Linked DNA regions of Homo sapiens: region 2 is linked to region 1. The links are contacts of gene promoters, found by promoter capture Hi-C in human tissues and cell types (Jung and others, 2019). All regions are on one chromosome and are shown on one strand. The core of a region is centred on a gene start or on the middle of the fragment in contact, and the rest is flanking DNA. Distances in the headings are between cores, read along the strand shown.

Evidence for each region. The method cuts DNA at HindIII sites, captures the fragments that hold promoters and counts their contacts. A contact is called where the count stands out against the background at its distance.
Region 2: a fragment that was not itself captured here is called in contact with the fragment with the promoter of NGEF in region 1 in 1 of the 25 tissues and cell types used here (pancreas).

The regions. Positions count from the first base shown.
Region 1 is chr2:233,009,310-233,016,678 of GRCh38, forward strand. It overlaps NGEF (neuronal guanine nucleotide exchange factor), which reads right to left and starts at 3,947. Exons shown (of 15, transcript NM_019850.3): 1 at 3,759-3,947. It overlaps LOC101928881 (a long non-coding RNA gene), which reads left to right and starts at 3,305. Exons shown (of 3, transcript NR_136325.1): 1 at 3,305-3,660; 2 at 3,831-3,938; 3 at 6,398-6,576. The HindIII fragment of the contact is 2,443 bases long and covers 3,300-5,742 here.
Region 2 is chr2:232,975,051-232,982,195 of GRCh38, forward strand. The region is part of intron 1 of NGEF (neuronal guanine nucleotide exchange factor); the gene reads right to left. Among named protein-coding and RNA genes, the nearest start is that of NGEF, 35 kb to the right of the region's middle. The HindIII fragment of the contact is 5,074 bases long and covers 1-4,607 here.

The DNA.
Region 1 (7,369 bases), core at 2,697-5,196:
CATAATGGCCTCCACTTCTATCCATGTTGCTGCCCAAAACTCCTTTTTATTGATCTATTTATTTTTAGAGATGGGGGTCTTGCTATTTTGCCCAGGCTGGATCTGAATTTGCGATCCTCCCACCTCAGCCTCCAGAGTAGCTGGGACTACAGGACACCCCACTGCACCCGGTTCATATACCCATTTTTAAACTCATCAGCAACTTGGGGCCAGGTGCAGTGGCTCACTCTTCTAATCCCAGCACTTTGGGAGGCCAAGGTGGGAGGATTGCTGGAGTGTAAGAGTTTGGGATGAGCCTGGGCAAGATGGTGAGAACCCATCTCTACAGAAAAAAAAAAAAAGTAAAACTCCTGGATGATTGGAGGTCAGAGCTTCTAGCTTTGGGAGACATGGTGCTGGTGCATGAAGCTCCAGCCCAAAGTGAAGGCAACTGAGGCACAGCCACCAGGTGCAGGGTGCAGAAGTGAGGGATGAATTTCCCATGGGACACGCTGGCCATCCAGACCCCCACTCTCATCTCTGTGGACCTCTGGGGTCCTGGCATCTTGGGTTGGGCCATCCCCTCCACCTTCCCTCCACTCCACCTGTCCTGTCTCTCTTTTTTTGAATTGGAGTCTTCCTCTTGTCACCTTGCCTGTAGTGCAATGGCGTGAACTTGGCTCACTGCAACCTCTGCCTCCTGGGTTCAAGCCATTCTCCTGCCTCAGCCTCCTGAGTAGCTGCGATTACAGGGGTCCACCACCATGCCAATTTTTGTATTTTTAGTAGAGATGGGGTTTCACTATGTTGACCAGACTGGTCTTGAACTTCTGACCTCTGGTAATCCATGCGCCTCAGCCTCCCAAAGTGCTGGGATTACAGGTGTGAGCCAGCACGCCCAGCTGGCATCTTTTAAACAGACCTCATGCCTCCCCTGTCTCTGCCTCCACTGGCCCAACCCTTACTGCAGGGCTCCCTCCCTTTTGCTAAAACCCTGCTGTCCCTTCACCTGGAATGTGCTATCTGTGAACGTATGCTATTTAGAGAACCTGGAGCATTCATTCTGAGTGAGTGTGAAAAGAATTACTACCTTATTTTCAAGGTAGTAATGCTTGCTTTATAATACATCAAACCACACCCCCAGTTCTTCTCCTCCTCCTGGAAAATCATTAATAAGTGATGGAAGATTGTTGAATGATGGCCAGCTCAGAGGCCACCTCCTCCATGCAGGCCTTGCTGATCATCCATCCCTTTGATGGTGCCCATCCTCCTCATTTGAACGTGTGATTTTTTTTTTTCCTTGTCCACAGGCAAAGTGAGTTGAGGCAGGAAGATTGTGAGATGGCCTCACCCAGGCTCCCAGGTCCTTAATCAACCACCTGAGCTAGTTTCCCAAAAGCAGCCCACAGAGGGTGCTCCAGCAAATGGCCCCTCCTCAGTGCTCAGACCCCATGTGGTCTCCCACGGCCCTGGCCTCCAGGATGGCTGCCAAACAAAGGGAGGAGGAGTAAGGCTGAAGTCCTCAGCCTTCTGGGGTGGGTCCTCCAGTCTGGAGGCAGAATTCCACCCCCTGGTCTGACCTCTCCCAAGGTGGGGAGAGGTGGTCCCAGGCCAAGGGAAGGAATTTTTCCTGAGGCCCAGCAGCCTCCTGAAGACACCATCATGGTAGCAGAGGGGGCTTAGGTGCGGGGAGAAGGGGGGTCTGAAAAGAGGCAGCCCATCCAGGCTCAGAGATGGAACCCCCTGCTCCGCTGGGCCACGGTGCCTCTCAGCCTCAGGATCCTATCACCGTTGTTGGGGTGAGAGGGCTGGTGTGCTCTTTTCACCAAGCGGGGTTTCTGGCCTGGCCTCGGGGGTGTGGGACACAGCATCGCTTCATCTCCACTAGCCTGAGGGCCACCATTGTCCCATCTGTGTCCCCAGCCCCACTTCAAAGCCTCACACATACACTGTGCACAGCAATTATCTATGAAGGAGTAAAGGAATTTTTGCCATTGGGGTTGTGCTGGGGGGTGACTTCAGAGCATCAGAGCTGACTCCTTACTCGGGAAGCAATGGGCCCATGTAGATGGGGAAGGGACGTCATCTTGGGAGACGGGATGTCCGACTTGGTGCTGGTGGCTCACCAGCTTCTTGGGACAAACAGCAGCTCCTGCGCCCCTGGTAGAGCCAGCAGGCTTGGGTGGTTAGGTTTGGTCTCCTCTGAGAGGCTCTGGGTGGCCCCACAACATCTGGGCTATTTTGTTACTGGTACAAGCTTCCGGTCTCCCACAGGCCAAGGGAAGTTCTTAAAGCAATGAAAAAAAAAAAAAAAAAGGAACAGAGACAGAGTCTTGCCAGGTTGCCCAGGTTGGAATGCAGTGATATGATCATAGCCCACCGCATGACTTCTGGGCTCAAGCAGCCCTCCTGCCTCTGCCTCCTGAGTGGCTGAGACTACAGGCATGCATCAGCTCTTCTTAAAGCAATTCATCTTCCCCCATGTCTAGCCTCATCTGTGTCCCCAGCCCCACTGGGGCAGAAAGCTGTGGAATGTTACTCACACTGTCATTGGATCAACCCCTGGCTTTCCTGTGGGGATCCCCTCCCTGGGAGGGGTTCCCATGACAATTTGGGCTCCAGAAAGGGATGTGGGAGGAGAGTGCGGTGGAGGGAGGTGGTCTGTGGTCTCCCTTCATGGACCAGAAAGCTTGACCCCCAAGGGGACCCTGGCTTCTACTTCCTCAGAGCTAAGCAGTGCCAAGGGGCAGCCTGAGACATGGGCAAAGGGGAAGCCTAAATGGAAAAAGAGAGAGAGAGAGAGAGAAAGAGAGAAGGGGCAGGGAGGACAAAGACACATGGCAAGTGTCCAAGCTGGAACATTCCCACCAGTGGCCTTATTGCATTAAGGATTTTCCCAAAAAGCAGAAATACACTGATAGTCAATGGAACATAGCAGAGCTGTCACGAGCCCAGGAAACACAAGTCCCACCTCTACACAGCCAGAGACTGTGTGACTGTCCCAAATTTTAAATCAAGATAGACAATAAGAACCTACCACTTTCACATCCAAGAAAACTGTGTCCCTACACATTTCAGTCACACCGTGCTGTGGCTTGAGGCCAGCCAGATGCAAAAATCAGGAAGGTTCTGAGGGGTAGGGCCTTCTGTCTTTCTGAAAGGGGCCCCTGAGCGGAGGGGGCAGTGCTGGGGGAGCTAAAGCGCAGTGGGCTGTCACTTCACGACTATGACTTCTGTTTCCCAAGTGCACTTCCTGACCCTGAGATTTGTGCCATGGCACACAGGAATCAGGGCACTTCCGTTTACATATACGCTCATTATCAGGACTGGCGTCGTGGGTGTGGGGCCTGGGCAGTCACAGGGCCCTGTTCTTAGAAGGTGCCCCGGCTTGCTTTAATGCTGTGTTGTTGTCCTTTTGAAAGCCTTACTATTTTAACAAGGGGCCCTGCATTTTTATATTGCACAGGGCCCTGCAATTATGCAGCCATTCCTGCTTTTGATCTCACTTACCCCACAGCCATAATGGAAGAGCGCCTGGAAGGAGTCCTTATCCTGATTCCCAGATGGTGAAACTGAGTGCCAGGAGGGGCAGTGCTGAAGCCGAGACCAGACAGGATCCCTCGGGTGGAATCCAGGGCTGCTGTTTCTCTTGGGGGCTCCTCCTCAGTGAATGGATGGGTGGTAATCTCCTTTCCTACCTGTCCTAGCGGTAGCCTCTGTTCCTTCTCTTGTTTTATCTCATTTTATTTTTTTAAAAAATACCAAAACCATTCTCTCACCTGCCAGAGAGGAGCTCATAGGAGTTGGGCTTCCTCAGAGAGTGTTCCTCCCTCGTCCCCTGTCCTGTCCAGGCACCTGCGAGCAGGATGGTGTGTCCCCGGCTAAATCCACAGGCGCTCCACTCTGTCCCAGAGAGCCCACAGCCAAAAACTTCGTCCTGTCCTGGAAAAGCTTCACTGGTAAGCATTCCCGACCTTTAGACCTGCCTTGGCCCATAGCTGGCCACGAGCCCATAACGATCACTTCCCGGCTGGGTGTTTACCTTCCTGGGCCCCATGGGTTGAGCCAGGGTGGCAGCCACATACCTGACACAAAAGTGGTGCAGGAGGGAAGGGCTATCTGAGGGGAAGGCTGGGCATGGCTGGAATACCCGCCGCCCGCCCAGTGCAAGATAATGCTGATGGTCACACCAAGAGGGGCCCGTGGCTCAGCTGGCCCACCAACCCCAAGCATTGGCCAAGCCAGCTGCACGGCCCTCAAATCTGAGATTTGGGAGAGGCTTTGGGGTCCTCCAGGGTTCTAGTCACTTCCTGCCATGGCCATCTGGCCTTAACTCAATCACTTCCAGGCATGGAACACTCACTGCTTTGTAAGGCATCTTGCTCCATTATTATTATTATTATTATTATTATTATTATTATTATTATTCCCTCTAATAGCTTCCTTTAATCCAGTGCTTACTACATGACAGGCACTGGGCTAAGTACATTACATAATCTATGTAATCCTTGTGTTGTCACTATGACCAGAGAATCATGCCCATTTTAAAGATGCAGAAACAGAGGCTCAAGAAATTGATCATCTTGCTCAAAGCCCCACAGCTAGTAAGTTGGGGATCCAGGATTCAAACCCAAGCCAACTAGTATCAAAACCACTACCATCATTTGCCAAGTTTAATTGCTACATCATCCATCTTTATATAAAACTCAAATCAGCGTTTGTTTTAGCTATCTGTTCTGGAAACAAATTAACTCAAAGTGTGTGGCTTGAAATAACACTCATTTGTCATCTCAGTTTCTGTGGCTAGAAGTCTGGGCACTGCTTGGCTGGGTTCTCTGCTCAGGGTTTCTCATAAGTTGCCATCCAAGTGTTGGAGGGGCTGAGGTCTCATCTCATGGCTCCACTAGGGGGGATCCACTTCCAAGCTGCTGGTGTTGGCAGGATTCAGTTTCTTAGGGCTGTAGGATGAAGGCCTCAGCCCCTCTCAGCTGTCAGCTGTGGCCACTATCAGTCCTTTGCCATGTGGGCCTCTCCGCCCTGGCAGCTCGTTGCATCAGAGAGGGCTATGGAGAGAGTCTGGGAAGAGGTAGGTCAGTCTTTTGTAATATACTCAAGGATGTGATATTCCATCACTTCTGGCATATTCTACTCGTTAGAAGGAAGTCATCAGGCACAGCCTACACTCAAAGGTAGGGGATTACACAGGGCACAATACCAGGGGTGGGGGTCCCTGAGGGCCATCTTTGAAAGTTCCCACAGCCATCTGATTGCCACAAAACATGGGTTTCAGTTTTGTCCCTGAAAGCCAGATTGAAGTAGTCTCTCATCTATTCTCTCACCCATCCATCCACCCATCCACCCATCCATCCACCCATCCACCCATCCATCCGTCCATCCATCCATCCACCATCCATCCACCCATCCATCCATCATCCACCCATCCACCCATCCATCCACCCATCCATCCATCCATTATCCACCCATCCACCCATCCATCCACCCATCCACACTTCCATCCACCCACCCATCCATCCACCCACCCTTCCATCCATCCATCCACCCACCATCTATCCATCCAACCATCCATCCATCCATCCATCCATCCATCCATCCATCCATCCATCCACCCAACCATCTACTCATCCATTCATCCACCCACTCATCCACCCATTCATCTACCCAACCATCTACTCATCCATTCATCCACCCACTCATCCACCCATTCATCTACCCATCCATCTACTCAACTACCCATCCACCCACCCATTCATCCATCCACCCATCCATCTATCCACCCATCCACCCATCCATCTATCCACCCATCCACCCATCCATCTATCCACCCATCCATCCACCATCCATCCATCCACCATCCATCCCTTCACCCATCCATCCATCCACCCACCATCTATCCATCCATCCACCCACCCATCCACCCACCAATCCACCCACCCACCTACTCATCCATTCATCCACCCACTCATCCACACATCCACCCACTTATCCACACATCCATCTACCCATCCATCTACTCATCCACCCATCCACCCACCCATTCATCCATCCACCCATCCACCCATCCAGTCATCCACCCATCCATCCACCCATCCACCCATCCATCTATCCATCCACCATCCATCCATCCACTCATCCACTTACCCATATATCCATCCAGCCATCCATCCACCCATCCACCCATCCATCTATCCATCCACCATCCATCCATCCACTCATCCATTTACCCATATATCCATCCAGCCATCCACCCAGCCATCCACCCATTTATCCAACCTTTCCTTCATTCATTCAACAAACATTTGAGCAGGGCACTATAAACCAGATCCCGCATTAGGCTCAAGAGATATTAAAATAAGTGCATTAACTCCCTCTTTCCCCTCTCTGTCCCTTGCCACCAAAGCCTTCCAACAGAGCCTTCCTGCATGCCGAGGTTGAAGAGGTGTCCGCTGAGTGCTCTGTCTTCTGGGAATTTTGGCTGTTTCCTGCAACCTATCATCAGATGCCACACTTATGAGACCCTCATCCTTCTGCTCACTCTCTTCCATTGTTTCACTCATTAAAAATATATATTTTAAGCAATTCCTAAATGTAAGTGTTTGTAGCGGGTGTGTGTGTGTGTGTGTGTGTGTGTGTGTGTGTGTGTGTGCGTGTAGGAATAGATCTGAGTGGGACCATGGGGATGCAGCAGGGACCTCCTGGGTGGGCAGGGCCAGCAAGGGGCACAGGTAGAGGCCTGAGCCCTGGACTCACCTGCCTGTGGACCTGTCCCCACAACCCAGCTCCCCAGGCCCAGGGCTGAGGGAATGAACTCGTGAGAAGAGGGTGAAGGGGCCAGTGGGGTTGTCATGTTCAGGTGCCCAGTGGGATGACTTTGAAAATTAAAATTATAAGTCTTTCACGCAGGAGACCATTTCTTTCCTATTGAGCACCTAGTACCAGTAGGTACTGTGCTAGGCCCTGGGGCTGCAATTGGGTGGCTTTCTAAAGTGAATCTAATTTCCTTTTTTGTCCTTTGCTCTATCTCACTGCCTCAGAACAGGCCCCCATCAACTCCTACCTGACAATTGCAATGTCCTTTAAATGGGTCTCTTGGCTTCAGTCTCTCCCAATTGCTTCCAGCCCTCAGCACCCCATCCCACTCAGTAGCCATGTGAATCTGCTGACACAGATCTGATCTTGTCACTTTCTTGCTCAAAAACATTTTATATAACCTACGTTAACAGTTTTATGAGTGTTCTTCCAGAAATGTTCTATATATACATAATCTCTACCTCCCTGCCTCTCTCTCCCTCTCTCTCTCTCTCCCTTGCATGTCTGTGTGCATACACACACACACACACACACACACACACACACACACACCTATATCCTT
Region 2 (7,145 bases), core at 821-3,320, 36 kb before region 1:
TGATGAAACGTGGGATAATCTGCACATCCTGGTATCCACGTCTTCGCCACTGAAAATTACAGCTTAATCTCTGCAATTTGGAGGCATTCACGTATCATTTTATAATTGCCGTTTGTTTACATTATTCCTAAGAGGCACTTTTAGGGGGAAATGTTTAAAGTGGCTTGCAAAACTACATTCAAATAAATACTTCTTAAATAATTCCAGAGAAAAAGGGTGGCAGAAATAGTGAGGGAATTCCAGGAAAGCATTGAGAGGGACCGTAAATGTCTAGACAGGAAAAGAAAGTCTCAGAAGATGAGAAAGGGTTGTGGGCTGGTGCAAGGTCTCACAATGGTAAGTTTAGACATGGGCAAGGTTGATCCCCAAGGCGACAAACCTTGCCATCAGCTGGCAACCAAGTCTAGTGGGTGCATTAGTGGCCTTTCTGATGGAATGATGTATGGCCGTGGTGGAAGAATAAGGTCCCCCCATCCCATGGCCACCCCACCATGGGCTGGAGAAACAGAATGGTTACCTCCCTCTGGGGTGACCATATAGCATATCATCTGAACGAGGACACTTTTCATAGGAAAAGGGGGATACAACAGGAACAAACCCCACCTCCCTCCCCACAAAGACCTCCTAGGGTAGGGGTGCTCAGGGCGAGAGACTATGTGGACCCTCTTAGTGGGTCTAAGCTGGTGGGACAGCGTGTTAGACAGAGAGGCCGAGCTAGGAATTCTTCTCAGCTCTCCACTCATCTGAGGGCTTGAAACCTGGGGTCACATGGATTCTATGGAGGTTTTCAGGGTACAAGGCTGTGTATGAGCATATACATTTTTCTGGCCTATCGGTCCAGAGATTCCATCATACCTTCAAAATGGTCAGAGACTTGGCCAGGCACCGGCCTATAATCCTAGCACTTTGGGAGGCCGAGGCGAGCAGATCACCTGAGGCCAGGAGTTCAAGATCAGCCTGGCCAACATGGAGAAACCCTGTCTCTACTAAAAATATAAAAATTAGCTGGGTTTGGTGGCACATGCCTGTAGTCCCAGCTTCTCGGGAGGCTGAGGCAGGAGAATCGCTTGAATCTGGGAGGTGGAGGTTGCCATAAGCAGAGATCTTGCCACTGCACTCCAGCCTGGGCAACAGAGCCAGACTCCATCTCAAAAAAACCCTTCCAGTCCTCTTCTGTTGCTCCCTTCCACAAACATCCAGCTCAACCAGTGTTCTACGATTCATCAGGAGTGTTTGTCTGTGTCTTCCTTTGTGAAATGGGGAGCATGGAGGGCTGGGTTTCAGATGCCTCCTTTCCCACCGCACCACTCCTCTTCCTCCACAGTCCCTCTGAGTTCCCAAACACCTTCTTCTACACCCACCAGCCAGCCCCACACTACTGATCTCAGGGCAGGTGGTCTGGCAGAATAGTCAGGAGGTTGGGTTTCCCCTACCCCAGGCCGAGAATGCCTTCGTTTACCTAAGATAGGAATTAGGACTTTCTGGGTAGGGGGATTTGAAGACTGAAGGCCACTCTGGTTCCTAGAACCAGCTACTTCCGACACAGGTTTGTATCAGAAGGTTTGCCCTAGGATGGCACCTCCTTCCCACCTGCTTGCAGGGCTGATCCTGTTCTATTAACCACCTTCCCTGTAAATTGTCAGCCAGGCAGAAATGAGCATTAACGTACTCAGAGGTTGCCTCAGAGCAGCTGGGCCACGTGCAGGGGCACAACCTGAGCTCATGGGGACCTGGGGAGTGCCTTCCCCACCACGGTCGTCTGGGGGACCCAGCAATACCTGACCCTTCTGGTCCCGGCCTCAGTTTCCTGATCCATGAAGTTGGAGTGTGCACTATGGGGTCGGTGAAGCCCCTTCCAACTAGAAAGCAACGCTGCTATTTCAGGTGGCCAGAGAGGATTGTGCGGTGGCTGGGAGGACACACTTAGGATGGACCATTAATACGCACCCTTCCCGGGAGTGCCTGGGAGGAAGATGCTTGTCTTATGTGTGGCAAAGAACCCACAGCTCCAGCGAGATGGGGTGATTTTCATTCACAGCAAGTTTAACCTGGGTCACTGAGGGGATGAGGTTGCAATAAGAGCGAAACCGTTCTTGAGCCAGCAAGAGGACAGAGAGAGAGAGAGGCTTCCAACCTGGCCAGATGAACGGGGACCCCTGCACTTGCTCCACTTGGGAACCTGATCCACCAGAAAAGTGGCTGCAAGGACGGGCAGAGACTCGGGAGGGACGAGGTCACCATTGTCACCCATCTGACCTCTGGGAGCCTGGGGGCAGAATGAGACCCAGAGACAATGATGGCCTTGAGCTCAGTGTAAGGCGGAGACCATGAGTGTCCGAGCTCCCCAGAGATGGGGGTGCTGCTTTGGGGGCTGACGTCCCTGTCACTGGAGCTGTCCAGATGGAGGCTGGAGGCGCTGTTGAGGTTTTAGAGTTCAGTGAGGCCTGCCTGCCGCTGGCATTGCCTTCTCTCTTCTTTCCCCGGCCCCTGTGCCTACCACCTCACCCAAACCCTTGCATTGAGGCTGCTTTCAGTGAAGAGCTGGACCTGTGGACAGTGATAGGCAGGGGTCCCGTGGGGTGGGAGTGGGGGTGGATGATGTAGGCATTCATTGTGTTTTGGTGCCAGTCTGTGGAGGCCTCTGACTGCTGGACCGAGGAGCTCACCCAGCAAACCCTGCTGGTGGCCAGAGGGCCTGGCAGGCCCCGAGCAGGAGGCACAGGCGGGGTGGTGGGGGACATAGAGCACGTCCTGAGGGGGATGGCACACAGGTGAGTACCTGGACAGGTCAGAGCTGCAGGGAGGAATGGGAGGAATTGCAGGTCAGTGACTTGTGGTGGTTTTGAGAGCAGCGGACAAGGGAGCTGGCCCCCTGTTTGTTGTGGGCCTGGGTGCCTGGCGGAATGCCACTCCTGGTCTGGGAAGCAGGAGTGAAGCCAGGTTGGGGTCAGAGCACACTGGTTTTGCGGTGTTGGGTTGAGGAATCTCCCAGGAGAAAAGTTTGTGGACAGAAATCCCTAACCGACACTGGACTGAGTTGCTAACAGGCATCTTCCGGCTCTGACAAGGGGACCCCCGGGGCCTCTGTGTTGTGATCCTAACATGAACTTTTTTTTTTTTTGGCTTTCAAGGTTATTATTACTATCAGTATCGTCATTATTTTAGGCTGTATCTTAAAAACTTGAGGGGCTGGGCATGGTGGCTCACGTCTGTAATCCCAGCACAGGCTGAGGGGGGGGATCATTTGAGGTCAGGAGTTCAAGACCAGCCTGGCCAACATGGTGAAAACCAGTCTCTACTAAAAGAAAAAAAATATTAGCTGGGCGTGGTGGTGGGCGCCTGTAATCCCAGCTACTCCGGATGCTGAGGCAGGAGAATCGCTTGAAACGGGAAGGCATAGGTTGCAGTGAGCCGAGATTGCGCCACTGCATTCCAGCCTGGGCGACAGAGCGAGACTCCATCTCAAAAACAAGACAAAACGAAACAAAAATAACTTGCGGTATAATTTACTCTTTTTATTAGTTTTGACAAACACATTCAGTGCATGTAACCACCACCACCACCAAGATACAGAACAGCTCCCTCAACAGGGAAAAGTCCCCTTGTGCCTGCGGAGGTCAGTAACTGCCCCGCCCCCAGCCCCGGCAACCACCAATTAGAGTCTTGGTTTGCCCTTTTCTGTTGTGTAGGTGGAGCTGGCAGTCTGTCGCCCTTGCTGGAGAGCAGTGGTGCAGTAGAGGCTCATCCGTGGCTCACTGCAGCCTCGACCTCATGGGCTCAAGCCATCTTCCCACCTCAGCCCCTTGAATAGCTGGGAGCACAGGCGCCCGCCTAATACTTGTATTTTTTGTAGGGATGGGTTTTGCCATGCTGCCCAGGCTGGGTGTCTGGCTTCTGTAGCCTATTGTGCTGTGTTCGCTGCTCTGTCGACGTTGCCTGTGTCAGTGCTGATCACCAGCATTTACTGTGCGGTGCCAGGGATGCAACGACGCCCACACCATATACCACCAAGGGCACTGGGCCAGGAGTCAGGGGACCTGGGTTCGAATCTCCATTTCCAGCTGCTTGTAATCACAGGCTTAACATCAGGCAAGTCAGGGCCTCAGTTTCCTGTCCAGAAAACATGGGGTGGGTGGGTATTCTTGACTTCTAGCTCTCAAATTTGGTGATCCAGGGAGGCTCAGAGGGTCCTTAGAGGGATGTTCATGGTACATTAAGAGTCAGGGGGATTGTCCTCCCTGAAATGAGGAGGCTCTGAAACCCTGAGAAGAAGTATTCCCAGATCTTACCACCTTTGAGATGATTTTACACACACACACACACACACACACACACACACACACACAGGAAGAGATTGTAAAACTATCTGTAAAACTATTCTAATTCTGCTGCAATTATAGACTATTTTAAGCAAATGTGCTCTGCGTCTGGAATCTTTTTATAATTGCTTTGATTCGTCTATAACGATTAACTGCCAGAAAACCCAGAAGCTTCCCCCACCCCAATCTTCTGATGTTCCCTTAAGTTCCTCTGTGGCTTTAGACCCATGTCTTTCTATTCCATGGTAACTTCAGGGTGGGGGAGCCTGGGGATAGCTTTGTGATTGAGGGAGGGTGCAGCTCATGGTGCACTTGCATTCATTCATTCATTCACACCCCCTGAGCACCTGCTGGCATGGGACTCACGTCTTCATTCTATGTCTGTCCACATTCCCTCCTTAATAAGCTTCCTCAGGACAGGACTTGGTCTGTTTGGGTCTCTGTTGTTCCTGATGCCGGCCACACAACAACACTCTGTAAACATCTTTTTTTTTTTTTTACAGCAATAGATGAACGGATGAGTTACCTTAGCCAAGCCTCGCAACTTCCGCATGAGTCAATGTGATAATTACTCCACTTTATAGATGAGGCAGCTGCCACTCTCAGAGCTGTGATAATCTGGCCAAGGTCGCATGGCTGGCAAATGGTGCGGCAGGGGTCACACTACAGCTATCTGACTCATTTGTTGGGGGGACCTGTGATGTGGTCAAAAGATGCTGTTGTAACTGTGGGCTGAAGTCAGGCCTGGAAGGATCAGAGCCAGGAGGGGGCTCTATTTGGCTGTCTCTGTGTTAGTTGTGCAGCTTCAGGCCCAGGAGCTGAGGTGGCTGTTACACCTCCCAGCACTGGGCTGCATGAATCAGTGTGTGAATCAGTGTCCTGGGAGGTCAGGACACAAGGGGACAAGGAGGTGGGGAGTTGTGGGGAGCTGGCTGCAGGCTCAGCTGTAGCAATCACCAGCTACTGCAGGGGAGGAAGGCACAGGGCATGTGGGGAGGAGCAAGGTGGGTGTGGAGAGGTGAAGTTTCTAGACTGGATCTCATCCAAGTGCAGACATCATCCGGGGCTCTCGTTAAATCACAGATTCTGACTCAGGAGGTCCTGGGTGGGGGCTGAGACTGCATTTCTTTTTTCTTTTCTTTTTTTTTTGACAGAGTCTTGCTCTGTCGCCTAGGCTGGCGTGCAGTGGCGCGATCTCAGCTCACTGCAACCTCTGCCTCCTGGGTTCAAATGATTCTTCTGCCTCAGTTTCCCAAGTAGCTGGGATTATAGGTGCCTATCACCGTGCCTGGCTACGTTTTTCTTTTTAAATAGAGGCAGGGTTTCACCATGTTGGCCAAGCTGGTCTCAAACTCCTGACCTCAAGTGATCCACCCACCTCAGCCTCCCAGAGTGTTGGGATTACAGGCATGAGTCAGACAGCTCGCAGAGCATTCTCATTTGCTAGTCCCTAGAGCCCCCTCAGGCAAAGTCCTAGGGGAACACCGCCACCAGGGCATCCTCAGCAGGTGCATGAGGGAGAAGCTGCCTGGGCGAGAGCAGCGGCCCTTGCTTTGGCCAGGTCTAGGGCACATGGAGTGCCTGCGCAGGTCAGAGGCAAGCAGGAGTCCTGATCTGGAGAAGGACTGGCACCAGTAGGGAAGGGGCAGCTGGAGCCCTGCCATCTCTCGCTATCGTCTTCTGCCTCTCAACTAGGGGAATGGAGGGGTAAGGGTAGGAGAAGGTGGAAAACAAGAGAAAGGAGGATGTCTCCTCCCCAGGGCCGAGGGCCTCCCAAGCACCTGGAATTGCCTTTGCAAAAAGTATAACTGAGGAAATTGTGACAGTGAAAGAAATCAGACCTAACCAACTCCACCTTGCTTCTAACCTTTAAGCTGTCCTTGTTCATTCCTGGGCATAGGCCAAACTATAGGAAGGAATTCAGTTCACGGTTTGACTCTGAAACAAAATTGCTAATAGCCCTTTCCCGAAAAGACCCCTTTCTTGCCTGGGGACCAGTCTGCCTTTGCAGGACTAACAAATTAGCTACACGAGTAGAAATTACGGTTTAGGGGTCCTGCAGCCTCTGACTCCAAGAGTCTGACCCTCCCCACGTTGCTCCTGGGGATAACATCACTATTGTAAAACCTAAGATCAGCGCTTGAGATGTTTTGCAGGCCCTGCACTGGATGGATCAGCTGACACCACCCAGACCGTGGTAATCTGGCTCAACCAGTTCTGCCACCCCACCCAGGAACAGAAGACAGCAAGCAAACCTCACTTCAATCCCTATGATTCCATCTCCAACCTGATCAATCAGTACTCCCCACTTCCCGAGACCCTACCTGCCAAATTATCCTTAAAAACTCCAATCCCCGAATGCTTGGGGAGACTGATTTGAGTAATAATAAAACTCCCATCTCCCGCACAGCTGGCTCTGCGTGAATTACTATTTCTCCATTGCAATTCCCCTGTCTTAATAAATTGGCTCTGTCTAGGCAGTAGGCAAGGTGAACCCACTGGGTGTTTATACACCTGCTCGGGAACAGGCCCCTCTAGGTGCTGGGGACAGCTCAGTGAGACAGGCCTGGCCTCCTTGGAGCTCGCAGGGGCCACCAGAGGGAAAAAAGGACTACAAGGGAGAGGGAAGTGGCAGAGCCCATTGCAGGGGAGGTACTGGTGAGGAGCAGGTCACAGGGGAGGCCACAGCCCTGGGTGACTGGGACTGGGGGAGCTTCACTGGTCCTTGGAGCTGGGACCTTGGATTTCAGCTTCAGCCCAGCAGGAGGCATGGGCAGCCCCATGCCTGGAGCACAAGGGCAGCTGCTGCCCAGCAGGTGACACTGA